Regions from separate parts of the Homo sapiens genome. Here region 1 is linked to region 2. Evidence: promoter capture Hi-C in human tissues and cell types (Jung and others, 2019). All regions are on one chromosome and are shown on one strand. Each heading gives the region's core, a stretch centred on a gene start or on the middle of the fragment in contact. The rest is flanking DNA. Distances are from core to core; before and after follow the strand shown. Region 1 overlaps BNIP3L (BCL2 interacting protein 3 like). Region 2 holds the start of EPHX2 (epoxide hydrolase 2).

The links. Contacts are between HindIII fragments. The study calls those that stand out against the background at their distance.
Region 1: a fragment that was not itself captured here is called in contact with the fragment with the promoter of EPHX2 in region 2 in 1 of the 25 tissues and cell types used here (dorsolateral prefrontal cortex).

Annotation. Positions count from the first base shown.
Region 1 is chr8:26,385,372-26,389,851 of GRCh38, forward strand. All of the region lies in intron 1 of BNIP3L (BCL2 interacting protein 3 like), which reads left to right. Among named protein-coding and RNA genes, the nearest start is that of BNIP3L, 4.6 kb to the left of the region's middle. RefSeq lists a silencer at 182-476. The HindIII fragment of the contact is 3,170 bases long and covers 1,044-4,213 here.
Region 2 is chr8:27,489,171-27,493,501 of GRCh38, forward strand. EPHX2 (epoxide hydrolase 2) reads left to right here and starts at 1,973. Exons shown (of 19, transcript NM_001979.6): 1 at 1,973-2,139. The coding sequence starts at 2,039. RefSeq lists a cis regulatory region at 1-30 and a silencer at 1,777-2,056. The HindIII fragment of the contact is 8,102 bases long and covers 1-2,363 here.

The DNA.
Region 1 (4,480 bases), core at 1,379-3,878, 1.1 Mb before region 2:
GGATCACTTGAGGTCAGGAGTTCGAGACCAGCCTGGCCAACATGGTGAGAGAACAACCCCCTCTCTACTGAAAATACAAAAATTAGCCTGGCTTGGTGTTGGGCGCCTGTAATCCCAGCTATTCAGGCGGCTGAGGCAGGAGAATCGCTTGAATCCGGGAGGCAGAGGTTGCAGTGAGCCGAGATCACGCCACTGCACTCCAGCCTGGGTGACAGAGCAAGACTCTGTCTCAAAAAAAAAAAGGGGCGAGGGCGGGGGCTGAGCCATATGTCATTGTTTATCTTGGTGTCTGACAGACCTATGAGGAGTTTGATGTCTTTGGCCAGTCGGTTCCTGCTTGGCTGACATCAGCTCTTACAGAGGTGGAAGTACACTCAGCCTGCATGGGACATCAAAATGTTGCTTTGGGACATCTGCTAGATAGAAAGTATTTTGTGTGGGATAGGGTGAGCTTTCTGAAAAGCTTTTAGATATTGCCATATTTAATTACTCCCTTCTTGCCTCTCACTCTGTTCGTTTTTTTAGCTCATTACACAACACTGTACTGAACAAAACAAGAAGCCTCATTGAATTCCTTGAAGTGATTTTTGGGCAATGGGCAAAACAACTTATTCAGGCATCTAGTACTATCCAAATTGCTGATAAGTCGAAGGACTTTGTTGGGTAAAGTTGCACAACTGAAAAACAGGAGAAGAAATGTACAGATTATCTTGCGTTTGGGATTTTATCTTTGGTTCAGGGGTCAAAGCAGGGTTTCAATAGCAAATTACTGAAGTATTTGAATAGTGAAGTATTTTTGTGATTTTTTTTTAACTTTACCGCTGTGGAGAGACTGTTCACTTTCATTAAAAATTACAGGGCAAATACCCAAACTCCTTCCAAGTCAAAAGGATGTTGTCCAGTTTGTTTTATTGTTAAGAAAACTATCAACTTCCTTAAGAATGTTTGAATAAGATTCAATAGGGCCGAATAAGGAAAATCAAAGTAGTAGTGTAAATCGTAGTATAATTCTTGTTGTTGAGAAGTATAGCCTTTTTTTTCTTTTCAAATTTTCTTGTTCTTTTTTGTTTTTTGTTTTGTTGAGACAGGGTCTTGCTTTGTCACCCAAACTGGAGTGCAGTGGTACAGTCATAGCTCATGGCAGCTTAGACCTCCTGGGCTCAAGTGATCCTCCTGCCTCAGCCTCCCAAGTAGCTAGGACTGCAGGTGTGCACCCCCACATCCAGCTAATTATTTTATTTCTTGTAGAGTTCGAGTTTCACTTTGTCACCCAGGCTGGTCACCGGCTAACTTATTTTTTGTAGAGATGGAGTTTTGCTTTGTTGCCCAAGCTGGTCACAAACTCTTTTTTTTAAATAGAAACATCTTCAAGCACAATGTCCTTGCTTTCTTGTTATGAAGAGTGCTCTTAAGGCCTTCATGGATTGTCACTGCCTCATAATAATGTTTTGAATACCTACGTAACTTGTATGTAAATACATACTGCTGCAAAAAGACCAACTTTTCAAAAATTTATTTATTTATTTTTTTATTTAAGAAGAATGCCAGTAACTCTTGTTGGCCTGGTCTGGATTTCAGCATCAGGTTGGCCTGGTCTGGATTCCTTTCAATAATGAATGAAAAGCTTTGAGGAAAGAATGTAAATATAATGAAATTTCAAAAGAGTTACATGTGGGCCTTGAAAAGTTAGGGGGAAAGATGAGGAGAAATACTCTTCATTCTCTCCTCCCCTTGTCCCAAAGCTCCTCTCTTCTTCTTCTTGCAAGAGGATTGAACTAGTGATTATAAAACTGTAAAGATTATACAACATACGGCAATGAGTATAATCACAATTATTGGACCACCCTTCACAGTCTATTATGTTAGAGAACGGAGAAGCATTCACAGAAGTTTCTCTGAATCTCTTAGTCATTCCCAAAAACCCAAACCAGAAAATATCTCATGTCATTGTATGTTATGTACAAATTGGCATAAGGAACAGCTCTTAGTTTGTAAAGTCTTTTAGATAATGGAGAAAGCTTCCAGCTTTTAGTTTTCAAGCTTGATCATTAGGAGGAGAATTCACTCTGTGGTTGTTTTCTACTTTGTGTTGCTTGGACAGCACAAACCTCTTATCTAGCCTTGTTTCCTTTCCAAGTAAAAAGGGACTTTGTGAGGATTGGTAGAGTTAGAACACTAAGAAATTCTGAGGCTGTAAATCAGGAACAAATCGGGTGATGGGAAACAGACGTGTTGTTCATCTATTGAGGAAGACACATTTGCTTTTTTATGTGTTACTCAAAAGATTAATATGTAGCCTCTTAATGCCTGTGTACATAACTTTCTCTGTACCACTATGTATTTCCATAGATGATATTTTTGAAAGAGAATTACCCTTAATTAATTAAAGGAAATCTACACTTTTAAGGCTGTTAATACCTATTGTCAAATTATTCTCCAGAATGTTCACTGAAGCCCTAATTGTAATAACAAAGTATTAGAAACAACCATCTCAGTAGTAGTTAACCATTGCCATTTAGATAATGGTTAAAGTATGGTATATCTTTATAAAAGATGAGATGCAATGCAGTTGTTCAAAAGAATGAATGTCAGTATATATTGATAGGGAAGACATCTGAAAAACGACTTACAGAATATGTCAGTATGTGTGTATGGTACAGTTCCATTTCTTTATAAAAACAAAAGCAAAAACAGACCTATATTTCATTGACAAAAACTCTGCAAGTCTCCATGTGAAACTGTCAAAAGTGGCTCCTTTGGGAGTAGGAACGGGAGGTTGGGAGAGATGTTAATTTTTAATTTTATGTACTGATGTTTACGTTTTCTAGGAACACATTTTTCCAGTAAGGAATGGTTTTTCTATGATATAGAATATAATTGTAGTAGCTAAAACTTTCTTAGGGACCTTTCTTATTGTTCTGCGTGCTATATTCATTTAATCCTCCTAACAAAGTCTTCGAGGTAGATACAGTTATTATCTCTATTTTATAGATGAGAAAACTGAGGCACAAAGAGGTTAAGTACCCTGTGCGAGGGTAACAGCTATAACTGAGAGTGGGAGCCTGGCTTCAGTCTCAGCCCCTGACCACACTATACCAGTGTATCCCAAGTACAAATTGTCCGCCTTAAGTAGAAATGCTTTCAGTTATGATTCAGGGTGTGGAGGCCACAGCAGAGATCACTTTTACTAAGCTTTTCTAGGTATGTCTCTTTCAGGTTCCAAAAGTATATATTGGATTATGATTGCTTATGTGTTTTTAATGAAGAAAATAGGATCCAGACATTGATTTGAAAGTCCTTCAAAAAAGTAAAAACCAGGTTGGGAGCAGTGGCTCATACCTGTAAGCCCAGCACTTTGGGAGGCTGAGGTGGGAGGATTGCTGAAGCCCAGGAGTTTGAGACCAACCTGGGCAATGTAGGGAGACCCTGTCTCTACTAAATAAATAAATAAATAAATAAATAAATAAATAAGTCGGGCATGGTGGCATGTGCCCTGTAGTCCCAGCTTCTTGGGAGGCTGAGGTGGGAGGATTGCTTGGGCCCAGGAATCAAGGCCGCAGTGAGCTGTGATTGTGCCACTGTACTACAGCCTGGGTGACAATGCAAGACTGTCTCAAAAGAAAAACAAAAGTAAGGACCAGAAAACCTGATATTGTTTGTTACACCCTTTTTTCTCTTCGATTGCCTACTTCAAGTGAATATTAATTGTATTTTAGGGAAGACTGACTTCCACAGAGACCTATCTGGAACTCCTGGTTCCTTACCTCTGCTTCTGTCAGAGCAGCTCTGGGTTTTGGTTTGTTACTATTGTACACATTAGGCTTCTATACAAGAAGAACTGGTCCCATTGGTTTAAAAATAAGTTTGAAAATCCTAGAAACAGTGAGAGTCAGAAAAAAAAACTGTTTTTATATACATATTCTCTCCCCCACCCCCTTTCTCTCCAGTTGAAATATGTTGCAGAGCTCTAAATTTAGGGATGCTTTTGGCGTATTTCTTATACACTCCAGAGGCACTCGAGATAAATTATCTTCAATGTTAGATCTCTCTTAGCTTTGCTAGTTGTATTTGTTAATCCATTTTGAGTTCTCTAGCCTGTGTCCATTTTATGTGTGTATAGAATGAGGCCATGGAGATGTTGTACAACTGTGTCGTTTGGCAGCAGAGTCCTAAGGAATTGGTGGTGACTATGGGATGGTGGTAGCCACTGGGGCTGCCTCAAATGGAAAGGAAAGGGTTCTAAGTATTTATAAAAGAAAATTCTAGTGTATAACTGAGCATCTTCTATTTACCAGCACTTGATACTACTAAATCGTCACAGCACCCCGGTGTTATTATTATCTCTGTTTACAAATGAGGAAGCTGAAGCTCAGGTCACACAGGTAGACAGGAAGTGATGGGGTCAGATTCCCAGCTAGGTCTGCCTTGGAGCTTTCCTTCTTGTGAGGGTGATGTTCAGTTCACTCTGGAACTGGTGTAG
Region 2 (4,331 bases), core at 723-3,222:
GGAAGTAGAAATGCAGAGAGAGTTCTGTTTTAGCCATGATAAATTTGAGATGCCTGTTAGACACTCAAGAGAAGATGTTCAGTAAGAAGTTGGATATTGACGTTGAGTAAGATGTTGAGTAAGAAGTTGGCAAGTCTGGAGCCCAAAGGAAACTCTAAGTTGGAGATTTAATTTCTTTCTTTTTTTTTTTTGGAGGTAGAGTCTTGCTGTGTCACCCAGGCTGGATGGAGTGCAGTGGCACAATCATGGCTCACTGCAGCCTCCACTTCCTGGGCTAAAGTGATCGTCCCACCTCAGCCTCCTGAATAGCAGAGACTACTGGCATGCACCACCATGCCTAGCTAATATTTTATTTTTATTTTTTATAGAGAGAATGTCTTGCTTTGTTGCCCAGGCTTGTCTCAAACTCCTGGCCTCAAGCAATTCTCCCACCTCAGCCCCAAAGTGCTGGGATTACAGGTGTGTGCCACCATGCCCAATCTGGAGATTTAACAGGTTTCATACTATATAGGTCAGGCTGCAATTTTCTTTCTATTTTTTAAAATTCAATTATACCTTTGAGATCAACTAACTTCATGAGAAACTAGCTTGCTGTACTCCCTTCTCTGCCTATCTTTCAGTCTTCAAATCCAGAGTAATCCAGTTTCTACCATAAAGGGCCCACAAAAAGTGTTCTGAAACATCCGGTGTCATCCAAGTCCAAAATTGGACAGCTTTTTTTTCAGTTCTTCCTGTAACATTTGGCAGTGTTGGCCACTCTCTGCTTCTTTGGCAAGAATCTCAGAAAACACTAATAACTGCTCCAGGCAGGAGCCTGGAAGAGGTTACCAAGCTAGAGAAGGAAGCAACAGCATAGCTTGCTAAGGGCAAACAGCCCAGAGGAAACCCACGGCTCTGGTCAATCCTGTTGTTGATTGCTAGATCCAGAGACTGTTGTAGACCTCCCAGTTACAGTGAGGTATCTGACAACCCCTCACAAGGTTCTTGAAGCTCCGTGGTGGAGGGTATCTTGGATAAATCCACAGAGACACATTCAAGAGTAAATTCTCCACTGTTGGAGACCTCACTCACTCTGTTTGGTCTCCACCAAAGACACGGTTTTTAATTCATGGAGCTGCACTACAACAGCTCAAGAACTCCCAGCCAAAGTTTTAGTTTTTCTAGGAACATAAACGAGCCAATAGTGTGGAAATCGGTGATTAAAAACAAACCTCGCACATTTTAAGACAGAATTATTACAAGTAGCATGTACAAAAGGAAAATAATAGCCTACATTTAGTTCTTCTAAGCTTCATTCCACAAGAGATTGAAATCGAAGTATTCTGGGCTGGCACACGATAGCTGGAACATCATATTTTATTCTAGAAACACATTTGCCTTGGCAAAGAAGAGCGTGCCTAGAGGAGTGGTCAGGATAGTGAGGGATCTGTGATCCTTCGTTCTGAATCTAGAAAAGTCACTGGATATGCCCCTCCCCCGCCCCCCAACACGGTCTTATGTTCTGAATGTAGAAGTCACTGGATGTGCTGACACACACACACACACACACACACACACACACACACACACACACACACACACACAGAGTCTGTGGCCTCTTTCCCAGGCATTCCAAGTCCAGCAAGTTCGCAGGGAGCTGTCAGTCCGTCCAGGAAGGCCCGGGCCTGGGTTTGCCTCTTCAAGCAGCTACTGCAGGGGCGTGGGGAGGGGGCATAAGAGACTTTGGACTTTCCTTTGAGACAGTAGAAAGCGTTACATCCAGAGGCGAGATTCTAGCCTGGGGTCCCCGCCTTCCCGGCCTCCTCTTCCTCTCCCTCTGACTCCCTTTCCTGTGCCCCTCCCCCTGCCTCTTTCCCGGCCAGAGTCCAGCCTTAACCCGGGCAGAGGGCGGAGTCCCGTTAAGGGGGTGTGGGGAGGAGGCGGGGCCAGGGCAGGGGCGGGGCAGAGCCGGGCCAAGCTGGGCGGGTCATGCGCCCTGGCCTTCGCGCATCTCCCAGGTTAGCTGCGTGTCCGGGTGCTAGGCTGCAGACCCGCCGCCATGACGCTGCGCGCGGCCGTCTTCGACCTTGACGGGGTGCTGGCGCTGCCAGCGGTGTTCGGCGTCCTCGGCCGCACGGAGGAGGCCCTGGCGCTGCCCAGGTAAGGGGGCCCAGCGCCGCCGCCGCAGTGGGTCGGGGCCTCAGGAGGCAGACCGCGCTGGGCTTGCAGCCCAGCTTTCAGATTGCTCCTGTGCCGGAGCCCTGCGAATCATGCGAATCATGAAACTGAAGACCTGGCCCTGAAGTCCCAGTGCATATGAGGAGATCCGTTGTCTTTCTAAATGTTCATAATTAAACGTTGCCAAGGTCTCCAAAATTGCTTTCTGTGAACTTTTCCAAAAGGGAGAGGAGTTACTCATGGAGCTTTGTGCTTCTGCTGCCTCCTGTCTAATGGGGTGGCGCTTAAAGATGCGAGCCGAGATTCAGGAGAGAAGAAAGTTCTCTCCCCAGGTGTGGGTTGCATGCTTACTTGTGTAATAGCAAACTGCAGCAACCGCCCAAAGCCACATCACTGGGAAATGGTAGATGGGGTGTGCAGAGTGAGAGCTCAGGGACTTGGGAAAACACCTGTTCTACTACATGAAAAAACCACCCCACCAGAATCTGAAGCTATTTATACAATATGGTTTCAGCTATGGAAAAAAGGTACATGCAGAAAAGTGCCTGAAAGAAATAGGCCAAAGTACATCAAATGAGATTAGGAATAATGTAATGATTTTCTTTCTCTCTCTCTTTTTTTTGTGTTTTTTTTTTTTGTAGTTTCCAACTTCTAAATTTATAAACAATGTATTATTCCCACATTCAGAAAGGAGAGAAGTATACTTATTTATAAAGTGAAAAAGAAGGCCAGGCATGGAAGCCATTGTTCATATCCTCCTTTTACATATGAGGAAACTGAGGCACAGAAAGAAACCAGCTGTCCAAATCACATAGCTGTTAAAGAGCAGAGCCAGAAATCCAACCCCAGTAGTCCATGTCCGGAGCCTTTGCTTTTAATATAGTAAGGAAGATGAGATGGCAAGTAGCTTGAGGGAAAGGCATGTAATCTCTGTGCTTTGGGAAGCTAAGGTGGGAGGATCACTTGAGGCTGAGAGTTCAAGACCAGCCTGGGTGAAAGAGCAAGACCCTGTCTCTCCAAAAATAAAAATAAAATTAGCTAGACATTAGTGCATGCATGTAGCCCCAGCTACTTGGGAGGCTAAGGCAGAAGGATTGCCTGAGCCCAGGAGTTGGAGGCTATAGTTGTGTCCAGAGTTGGTTCCTGTCGGTGGGTTCGTGGTCTTGCTGACTTCAAGAATGGAGCTGTGGACCTTCGCAGTGAGTGTTACACTCGTAAAGATGGCGCAGACCCAAAGAGTGAGTGATAGCAAGGTTTATCGTGAACAGCGAAAGCACAAAGCTTCCACAGCATGGAAGGGGACCCCAGCAGGTTGCCGCTACTGGCTGGGGTGGCCAGCTTTTATTCCCTTATTGTCCTCTCCCATGTTCCATTTCTGTCCTATCAGAGTGCCCTTTTTTCAATCCTCCCCGTGATTGGCTACTTTTAGAATGCTGCTGATTGTGCGTTTTACAGAGCGCTGATTGGTGCATTTTACAATTCTCTTGTAAGACAGGAAAGTTCCCCAAGTCCCCACTCGACCTAGGAAGTCCAGCTGGCCTCACCTCTCAATCCTCCCTCATAACAGGACACCCCACCTGCTACTGGGAACTGGGTGATGACCACTCTAGCTACTTCCTGCTGGATAGGGGCAAAGAAGGGGCCCTGCCGTTGTAGTGTCCTCCAGAGGGGAACTCTCTAGGCCAGTCAAAGGGCCAGTGGGTCAGTCTAGCAGTCCTCGGTAGAAGTTGTGAGTTAAGCTCATTTGGGGTTCCATTTGTAAGACCATCTGTAGCTTGATGGCCTTGATCCTGGAGGAAACAAATTTGAGGAGGAGGTTAAAAATACAGGGACTGAAGGTGAGTAATAGCAAGATGGCTGTCACGGGACCTAGAAAGGGGAGAAGCCAAGTCACCCAACTCCAGAGGTTGGTATAAGAATTTGAAAGGTGTTGTCTGGTTTCAGAAGCCTTTTCCTGTAAATGCCAGGCAGCATCCTGTACTATCCCTGACTGGTTAGTTTAAAAACAACACTCCTCCCCTAAGAAGGTGCAAAGTCCTCCTTTCTCAGCAGTGAGGAGGTCTAGACCTTAGCGGTTTTGGAGAGTCACTGTTGCCAAATAGTCTATTTGGGATTGTAGAGTAAGGATAGATTTATTTATTGCAAACTGTCTGAGAAATCCTTTGAGAGTGTAT